Linked DNA regions of Homo sapiens: region 1 is linked to region 2. Evidence: promoter capture Hi-C in 16 types of primary human blood cells and fetal thymus (Javierre and others, 2016). All regions are on one chromosome and are shown on one strand. The core of a region is centred on a gene start or on the middle of the fragment in contact, and the rest is flanking DNA. Distances in the headings are between cores, read along the strand shown.

Evidence for each region. Contacts are between HindIII fragments. The CHiCAGO score rates a contact against its expected background, and 5 or more counts as called.
Region 1: a contact is called between a fragment that was not itself captured here and the fragment with the promoter of ANKRD44-AS1 in region 2, in 11 of 17 cell types (total B cells, naive CD8 T cells, naive B cells and 8 more). The highest score is 13.9, in total B cells.

The regions. Positions count from the first base shown.
Region 1 is chr2:197,274,266-197,279,464 of GRCh38, forward strand. The region is part of intron 1 of ANKRD44 (ankyrin repeat domain 44); the gene reads right to left. All of the region lies in intron 5 of ANKRD44-IT1 (ANKRD44 intronic transcript 1), which reads right to left. Among named protein-coding and RNA genes, the nearest start is that of ANKRD44-IT1, 26 kb to the right of the region's middle. RefSeq lists an enhancer at 142-281. The HindIII fragment of the contact is 476 bases long and covers 3,495-3,970 here.
Region 2 is chr2:197,196,219-197,201,432 of GRCh38, forward strand. ANKRD44-AS1 (ANKRD44 antisense RNA 1) reads left to right here and starts at 1,773. Exons shown (of 2, transcript NR_135584.1): 1 at 1,773-1,871; 2 at 2,700-3,055. The region is part of intron 1 of ANKRD44 (ankyrin repeat domain 44); the gene reads right to left. RefSeq lists an enhancer at 2,819-2,888. The HindIII fragment of the contact is 4,177 bases long and covers 1-2,970 here.

The DNA.
Region 1 (5,199 bases), core at 2,483-4,982, 80 kb after region 2:
TAAAATGGGAATGATAACTATACCCACCTCTTAGGGTTGCTCTGAGGCACAGTGAGGGTCTCTATGAAAGCCTATGGCAGACTGAAATGACCTCTCTTCAGATAAAGGCTTGCCGCCCAGCTGTGCAGAGTGTGGTCAGCACATGGCCTCCAGCTGCCAGCTCCTTCAGGGTCTGCCCCTGCTGCAGAGAGCCACCTCACCTGAGATCACACCATTCCTGTGACAACCTGCCTGTAACTGAGAGGTAAGGATATAAAGGCCCACGATGGCCCAAAGCAGGACACGGTGACTGCACTCACTCACTCCAGGGCTTCCTGCCAGGTGTGCTGAGGCCTTTTCAACTTTTCCCTCGGCCCAGTCCTGCGTCCTTCCCTTCCTACATGTTGGTCCCTAACGAGCATCTCACACCCCAGATTCCATCTTAGCATCTTCTTCTAGAGAACCCAACCTGCACCAAAGCCCTTTTTCAGTTTTAAGTACTTTAGGGTTTCTTTAATGGGACAAAGAACAGAGGCCAATTCTGGTTTAGAAAAAAAATCACACTCAGTCTGGCATGGTGGCTTACACCTTGTAATCCTAGCACTTTGGGAGGCCAAGGTGTGAGGATTGCTTAAGGCCAGGAGTTCAGGATCAGCCTGGGCAATATAGAGAAACCCCATCTCTATGAAAAAAAAACAAAAACAAAAATTAGCCAGGTGTGGTGGCATGCACCTGTAGTCCCAGCTACTTGGGAGGCTGTGGTAGGAGGACTGCTTGAATCTGACATTTTGAATTTTGAGGCTACAGTGAGCTGTGATTGTACCATGACACTCCAGCCTGGGTGACAGACTGGGACTTTGTCTCTTTTCTCTTTTTTTTTTGGAGACAGACTCTCGCTCTGTCACCCAGGCTGGAGTGCAGTGGTAGTGGTGTAATCACAGCTCATTGCAGCCTCAACCTCGCGGGCTCAAGCAGTCCTCCCACCTCAGCCTCCTAAGTATCTGAGACTACAGGCACATGCCACTACACCCAACTAATATGTGGATTTTTTGTTGAGACAAGGTCTCACTATGTTGCCCAGGCTGGTCTTGAACTCCTGGGCTCAAGAGATCCTCCCACTTCAGCCTCCCAAAGTGCTGCGATTACAGGCATAAGCCACTGTGCCCAGGTGACCCAGTCTCTTCAAAAAAAAAAAAAAAAAAAAAATACAACACGCACTCATAAAATTTTAGAAGGGGGGATCCATGCCATTTACTTCAAGTATTCAAAGACTGGTAGTTCATTCATTTACTTATTTAACAAATATGTACAGAGCACCATGTTGGGGGGGTGGGCAACCTGCTGGGACCACAAGGGCTCTGTACTGATGATCATTTAGGGCTATTGCACTTTCTATGTCCACAGCAGTGGTTCTCAGCGGGGTAGCACTGCCCCTACAGGCTTTGGAACCGGGTTGGGGGCTTTTGGTCGTTACAATGATTACAGGGCTCTGCTGGCATATGGGGGGTGGGAGCAGGAACGCTACAGTCCTACAGTGCTCTAGAAAATTTCTTTTCATGGTGGATTGGCCCACATCCCACATGATTTTCATAAAAGAGGGGGAAAGAGTTTATATAATTATCTAAGTCTAGATCTTAACTATGCATTTCATAAAATATTGTTTAGTTTTAAATACACTAAATTCTCTAGGAATTTGATTACCCTATAAATTGAGGGAAGGATGTAATGTATTTTGTTCAGAACTTTACTAGCCGGGCGCAGTGGCTCACGCCTGTAATCCCAGCACTTTGGGAGGCCAAGGTGGGCAAATCACCTGAGGTCAGGAGTTCGAGACCAGCCTGGCCAACATGGTGAAACCCTGTCTCTAGTAAAAATAAAAAATTAGCCAGGCATGGTGGCACGCACCTGTAATCCCAGCTACTTGGGAGGCTGAAGCAGGAGAATCACTTGAACCTGGGAGGTAGAAGTTGCAGGGGGCTGAAATCATGCCACCGCACTCCAGCATGAGCAAAAAGAGCGAAACTTGGTCTCAAAAAAAAAAAAAAAAAAAGGAAAATTAAAAAAAGAACTTTGCTAAGAGTTTTTTACACCATCTCTAAAAATGATGACTCTTACAGAAATGACATTCATGATTAATGAGACATCTCTATAACACACCTGTATTGCTCTATATTTATAGTTGTCATATTCTTAGTGATAAACAAGAAAAGACTTTTTTGCCCTTATTTCTAGGGTTATATATAAGAGTACTAATATATAACTAAAACTATTCAGCTGAATATTTCTTAAATACAAACTGATTTATGAGCAAAAATGTAACTATTTCATTAGGTCTTCAATATAGCTGTCCCCATATTGAAATACATGCTACTTTATTATAAATTATTTTCATGTTGTTTCTCCTTTATATTATAATTAGAGTATTACATTGATTTATTTTTAAATATTGTGTGTGAGTTCTATTATCTGTGAGTTTCCATTTCAGGAAGAGGATGTTACAAAATATATAAAAGAGGATGCTGGGTTTGATAAGGTTGGAAACCACTGCCTTATAGAACTGATTCTAAAACTGGGGTCTGAGGCCCACCCACAGCACAAATACCTGTGGCATTCATAAAAAATCCAGGTGCCTAGGCTCCAGCCTGTCTCATAAGGATGCTCTCTGGGGCTAGAACCCAGGAATTTTTTTTTTTTTTTTTTTGAGATGGAGTCTCGCTCTGTTGCCCAGGCTGGAGTACAGCGGCGCAATCTCGGCTCACTGCAAGCTCTGCCTCCCACGTTCACGCCATTCTCCTGCCTCAGCCTCCCAAGTAGCTGGGACTACAGGTGCCTGCCACCAAGGCCAGCTAATTTTTTGTATTTTTAGTAGAGACGGGGTTTTACTGCATTAGCCAGGATGGTCTCAATCTCCTGACCTTGTGATTGGCCCACCTCGGCCTCCCAAAGGAATCTATTTTTCAAAGCTCCTCAAGTGATATTGATCCTCTTCTCGGTTTGGTACCCACAAGTATAGAGGACACGGAGTGCACCAAGCCCTTCCCTAGCCTAGAGGTGCTCAGAGTCTCAAAGGGAAGGTAAAATTTTAACCATCATGTCAGGCACATAACTGTTAAGTGCTAGAAAGAAATACCAGTGAAGTGCTATGGGAATTCAAGAAAGGAACAGCTGGGCTGGAGGAGGTGTCTTGCAAAGGGTGCATTCCAGTGAGGATCTGGAAGACAGGGAGTAAGAGCCTCATCTCTGGAGACCGTGACTGCAGAGGCCTTTACATACATTATCTCCATCCAAATTCAAAGCTACTGTCTGGGATAAATACCACTCCTATCCAGTCTTTCAGAATAATGAGGCCTAAAGAAGCAGAATAATTTCACTCAAGGTTTTAAACTTAGGCCCTGCAGTCCCAGATGATAGAGCTTAACCACGCAGCTAATACTCAAGCCTTGACCAGAGGGAAACAGGTAGGGGTGGTATGGAAGAGGTCCCAAGGAGTTTCAAGACATAGAATTTCTATCCAAAGCTTCACTTCCATCTTGCTATTAGCGCTGTCACCAGCATTCAGGAGGACAAGAGGAAATTATCATAATTAGAAGGGACTCTGAGCATGTATCATTCACATATGGCTGGAAAGACTCAAGGATGAGAATAGGCAGTTAGGAGTCACTGACGCTAATGAGCCACAAATCATAGAAAAGTAACTTAATTGAGACAACAGCAAAATGAGAGGAGGCTCAGAATTAGGAGCTCTCACACTGCTTCGACAGTTCTAGTAACAGCGTAAAGCAGTTTCTGCTTAATCAATTCCCACCTAATCAGAGAGCCATCTTAACGCAGCATCTCCCAAGGCAGCAAATTAGCTAATAGTGAGTGACTGCAGCAATCAGGACAGTATCAGTGGGGACGGGAGGGATGGAAATATGCTAGGAAGAAAGGCAATTGGCTGGTGCTAAGGGGTTAAGGGGTGTTTAACTGGCTGTTAAATTGCAAAGTGCTAAGCTTCTGTGTTCTAATGCAGAAAGAGTTAACAATGAATAGAAATAAAGATGAAATCCATCTTTTTTTCTGTTTTTTTTATTCTGCATCCTAAATGTGCATCCAGGTAGTTACAAAACTTACTTTTTGTTTGTTTTGTTTTGACAGAGTCTTGCTCTGTCGCCCAGGCTGGAGTGCAGTGGTGTGATCTCGGCTCACTGCAACCTCCACCTCCCGGGTTCAAGCAATTCTCCTGCCTCAGCCTCCCGAGTAGCTGGGACTACAGGCACGCACCACCACGCCCGGTTAATTTTTGTATTTTTAGTAGAGACGGGGTTTCACCATGCTGGTCTCAAACTGCTGGCCTCAACCTCAGCCTCCCAAAGTTCTGGGATTTCAGGCATGGGCCACTGCGCCCATCCACAAAACTCACTTTTATCCCTACAAAGGTAAAGATGGAGGCTCTTTACACCCATGTTACAGGCCACAAGGTCTTATTGGACAGTAAGACCAAAAGACCTCCCTACCCACTTTCTCTTCCCCACCACCCCTTTCCTTTCTCTCATTGCGACACGTAGGTCGCCAGCAAGCAAGTGCCTCAAATCTCTGAGGCAGAGACTTTTCGCTTTGGAAACATTTGGAGCAGAAACAGGCGGTGTGGTCTGGAGCAAACATGCAAGAGAAGAAAATACCAAGAAGTCAGAGAAGAATCCCTCCACGTGGAATTCTCATTTGCATTTTGTGCAGTCAGCAGTTCTCCAGTTTTTCCACATCCTTTCAAAGGTTGGGCTCTCATGTGTTGTGAGAAGGTCAGACTAAGCGGGTTTTTCTTATGGTTTCAGGCTGGATAATATTTCATAACCACATGATTGCAGGGCTAAGCTTAGCAGTGCTGTATTTAAGAGTGGATCGCATATCCATCATTCAGTCCACATTTCAAAGACTGATAAAATATTGCCCCTGAAGATTTAAGAGATGCTGGTGATAGAACATTTCCCTCTCCTAACTAATAAAACTGTGAGGGTCAGTTCCTAATACAATACCAGGGAGCCTACCTGTATACAATAAAACGTCATTTGTCCTTGGAAGATGGCCTGAGAAACAGCATCACGCAGTCCAGGCAGTAAACAAGCCATTGAGTCTCTATATACATCATGGTTAGATTATTCATCCTAAAACACCACTTGGCACACATCACAACCTCTGATCAAAAGTCGTCATGGCTCCCCACGGTCACAAGATAAACCCCAA
Region 2 (5,214 bases), core at 523-3,022:
GTTAATCAATATAAACCACTTTAGTGATCTTTGTGGGGAAAAAAGAAAAATGGCCAGAAGATGATTTTCAGGGTTGTAGGTATATTCAGTATAATTTATTTGTCTGTTCAAATAGAGACAGCAGTTCAGTTTTAGGGTGCACTGGAAAACATGACTTTTTATTACTACCTGGTATGTGCATCACTTATAAAAAAGACAACAATAAAAAAGTATTCCTTATAAAAAATAGCAGAAAATGATCCATAACTACAGAAGTATCTTCTTGTGGTCATGAGTAATTTTAATTTTTGAGAATCTCACAAATTGGAAGCTAAATAAAGCAATTCAAGTGTCCTTTAAAAACAACAACAAAATCAGCATGTAGAAATGAAAGGTACTCTCAGAAAGGTGGCAATCTCCTGCTACATTTGAGGAGGCTGGAACTACTGTATACAAGATATATGGATTAACTCAGTCACATTAAATCATTCATGATTTAGGCAACTCCAGATTGGGTTTGTCTAAAATCTGTTAGCACCTGGGTTCTTTCCAAACACCAGCAAGCAATTTTTACACAATCAGGTCTTTCCAAAGCCCATGACAATTTTCCTTTAAACCCTCTCCTTCCCTTCTACTGTTCTTTTCTTTGAATTCCACGTGCATTCTTGGAAAGACAGCAAGCAGTTAAACTCTCACCACCTCTCCACAGGTGAGGGACTAGGGACATGTGTAAAACGGAGTCACCTTCCTGTTCTGGCCATTGTCAATTTTTTTTTTCCTAAGGCATCTTGTTATAGCAACCATTCTAAAATTGTTATAGCAACCATTCTAAAATTTAAGGCAGTGGGTTGATCAGGACCTGAATTAGTTTCTGCCTGAGATGACTGGAAGGTCCCCTACTCCCTCCCCAGCCAGAAAAAGTCACATGGAATGAAAATCTATTAGAGAATCCCCTCAGTGTAGTCTTTCAGGAAGCATCTTCTCATTTCCCCATCCAAAATCATGGTAAGGACATCCAGTGACAGATGTCAAAGGGAAAGGATAAGGCAGCAGGAAGAGAGAGGAGCCTAAGAGACTGGAAAACATTCGATAATATAAAATGGGAAAATGGGAAATTCTGCAAAAAAAAAGAAGTCATATCATATTTCCTTTCACAGACACCAACCCAGTGCGTAGCTCCTTTATTTCTTTACACACTACCCCCTCCAACAGGGGATAAAAGATATGTTTTCTAAAACTTAATTTGGTACATTTCAGATAACCACATTCAATTCAACAAAGATGTATTAAGCATAAGACATTTACTGAGCATAAGAAATTCAGACACTGGAGGCCGGGCGCAGTAGCTCATGCTTGTAATCCCAACACTTTGGGAGACCAAGGCAGGCGGATCACTTGAATCCAGGAGTTCCAGACCAGCCTAGACACATGGTGAAACCACATCTCCACTAAAAATGCAAAAATTAGCTGGGCACGGTGGCGCACACCTGTAGTCCCAGCGACTCGGGAGGCTGAGGTGGGAGAACCAACTGAGCCCAGGAAATTGAGGCTGCAGTGAGCCATGCTCACACCATTGCACTCCAGCCTGGGTGACAGAGTGAAATCCTGTCTCAAAAAAAAAAAAAAAAAAAAAGAAAGAAAGAAACACAGAAAAAGAAAAAGAAAGAAAGAAATTCAGACACTGGAATGTCAGAGTCAGTCTCTCCCTTGATGAGGTTACCAAGGTGTAACAGGAAGTATACAAATACGCACAGCTAGAATGTAAGGCACAGGCCGCAGGAGAAGTGCATGGAGAAGGGAGAGAAATTGTACCTGGCCTCCTGAAAGACGCAGCCTCTGAAATGAATATTGAAGACTGGGGAGGATTTAAACAGGTAGAGACGGATGGAATGGTAAGGGACTTTCCCTTCTTCATATTCAGAAGGCTGTGAGCAGAAGCTAGGGAGCCTGAACATACACAGGGAACAGTTTCATTTGGCTGGAGGAGGGGAGAAGTGAGGTAAGCTGAGTAGTAGACAGGGATCCTATCATGGAAGGTCTTGAATACCAAGCTAAGAAATTTGAGCTCTCTTCTGTGGAACTGGGGGAGCAGTGGGTGGTTTTTGAGCAGGGGAGTGACCTAAGATTTGTGCTTTAGAACAATCACTCTAAAAATGGATTGTATGATGACCTGGAGGAAAAGGCTGGAGTGTCATAACAAGTTAGGAAACTGCAATAATAGTCTGCACAAAGGGCTCTGGGGATGGAGTACCGCTCAGTTGTCAGAGGAAGCATTCTTCTGGTGGTAATATGTGAATCTAAAAGGTAAATTTGACCGGGCATGGTGGCTCACGTCTGTAATCCCAGCACTTTGGGAGGCCGAGGCAGGTGGATCACCTGAGGCCAGGAGTTTGAGACCAGCCTGGCCAACATGGTGAAACCCCGTCTCTACTAAAAATACAAAAAATTAGCCAGGCATGGTGGCGTGCCCCTGTAATCCCAGCTACTCGGGAGGCTGAAGCAGGTGAATCGCTTGAGCCCGGGAGGTGGAGGTTGCAGTGAGCTGAAATCGTGCTACTGCACTCCAGCCTGGGCGACAGCAAGACTCCATCTCGAAAAATAAAAAATAAAATAAAATAAAATAAAATGTAAATCTAGCTCCACCTTTAATGTAGCAAGGGCTAGCCTCCTCAGGAGTGGCTGCCTACATTCAAAACGATTCTCACCAACTTCTTCCACAGGACACAGGGCTCGGGAGCAGCGCCAGCCCGACATCGGCGGAGGAGCACCGGAAGTTCTGCAGCACTGGCTTTCTTTGCTCTTCCACCTATGCAAGCTCCTTCTCTCTTGTGGCTTGCCGAGCCTGGTTAGCTCTGAGACCGGAAGTTCTGAAGTCAGCTGGCATCCTACATCTGTGCAACCTACTTCTCTCCCCATCCCACCACAGAAACCAGAGCCTCGAGGCTTTTGGCTTGGGTGCTGCCTTCACAGTTTAGGTTTTGGTAAGAAGAAAGCTTATCTTCATGTCATGAGAAAGAAAAAAAAATGTATCTTTACGTAACGAGCTGAAAGAACAAAACAAGTATACCTAAGCCAAGTACATGCTATCTTTATTTCTTTATTTCCACACTGAAATTTAGTCAGGGATAAAACTTACTTTTTTAATCACACGAAGTTTGAAAAATAGGAAGTACTATGGGAAACACCTAATGCATCAAAACCCCTGTGCATTTTATCTTTGTCTTATGTTTGCTGGATTTTAATCTTAGTAGGTTTCCTGTTGCAACAATACAAAAACAGATAAAGAAAAAACTTAATAACCTTTCCTACCACAAATGTGAACAGCCCGTGTTCTTGTTGGTAGGTACAGATACAGATATATGAGATTATCGTTATTTATTATCAGAAAATGGGATTTTACTATTTCCCACACACACACTTTTTTTGAGATGGGGGTCTTGCTATATTGTCCAGGGTGGTCTCAAATTCTTGGGTTCAAGCGATCCTCCCACCCAAGTATCTGTAATCCAAGTAGTCTGGATTACAGATGCATACCACCATGCCTGGCTTATTTCCCTCTCTTACAATTTGCAAAAATAATGATGTACTGAGGACATCCCCCAGGTCGATAGCTACAGGATTAAATCATTTCTCTTAATAACTATATATAATACTATTCCATTGTATGGATATGCCATAACATATTCAATTATTCCCCTTCGAATGGGCATTTGGGTTGTTTCTAGTTTGTACCACAACAAACAAGCCTCTATCAGTGCTTATCCACATTGCACAGAGAAGTGCTACCAGAGCCAAAAGCATTTTCTGAGTACCTACAATATGCTATTTTTATGAAATATACAAAAGAAATGTGTGACATAGTCCTTTCCTAAAAGACTGCCAAATATAGTTGGGGAAATAAGCCTAACCCACACAAAACACTTAAACTGTGTAAGACAGTACTGAACCATGTTCTACAGACCTCATGCAAATGGATGCCAAGTTGTCCTTCTGCACAATGACAGATTGGAGAGGTAATCTGGAGGTGCCTTTAGCCATAATATTCTAGGAGCCTTCTTGATTCAGAAAAGGGGAAGCATGAAAGGCTAAGAAGCCAGAGTGGTGTCTCTGGAGGAGGCAGGACTTGAACAAGGCCTGAACATGGTTTAGATGGAGGAAGGAAAAAAATGTATTTTGGAATGACAAATGAGGCAGGGCACAGCACTGACTTTAGACATGTATATGCTCAGGAGAATGTCCTGAGTTACAGCATTTCTAAACACCCTCTTCTCATACTCCTCCCACCACCACCACTCGCCAGACTCTGCTTAAAGATATAAAAAATTCCCAAGCTTGGCTGCTGCAGAACATCACACTAACACTAATTTAAAATGCACTACTTCCAGACAGCACGAGCTTGAAATTACCTCCAAATCTCTTCCTTCCCTGTCCTTCTCATGCCCTATGCTACCCCCTGCCAAAACACATACAACGCTTGCTGTGCCCTTCAAACAACAGTAGTCATTTAAGCTGCTCCTGCCCATCTGGAAAATAATATGAATAACATGAAAGAAAGCAATAATGAAGTGACTGGAATTTAGCAACCAAAAAGACCTCAGTTCTTTTGATAATCAAAAACTTTGTTAAAATGTTTACATCGACAGTCACTACAGTGTTGGTCTTTCACTCTATGTTGCAATAGTATGTTTGCAACTTCTCCAAATCCATTTAAATGAAAATATTTAATAACAAGTTTTAAATTTTATCAATTGTTAAATATGATTTGAAAGTTTAGTGTATGTCCTGATATATAGTATGCCTTGAGACTGAATATAAGTAGCTCTATGGGAAAATTCTGAAAATGAATTAGGAATAAGTAGATTAATGTGCTTTTAGTCTCAAAGACTAGAGATTAAAAAGGCATGGGTAATTTTTAACTGAGAGGTGGTGCCACAGAGAAGTCTATGATTCTCTCTTTTTCATTACCCATCCCAGTTTAAAATTAGCTTGCAGCATGTTTTTTAAACATTAGGAAAACAAGATGCACTCCCAGAATGTTCATGTGAAGGGCACGTGTGAAGACATAATCTTGACAGTCATATTACAGAAAATAAGGGAGTGAGTTACTGAGTTTTTAACAAGGAGAGTAAGTTACTGAGTTTAAATAAAACCTAATTTGCTGTGTGTTTTTATTTAGCAGAATTTTGAATGCCCGTTGCCTCCGTGGCACTAGGCAACCACAAAGGCAACTGAGGT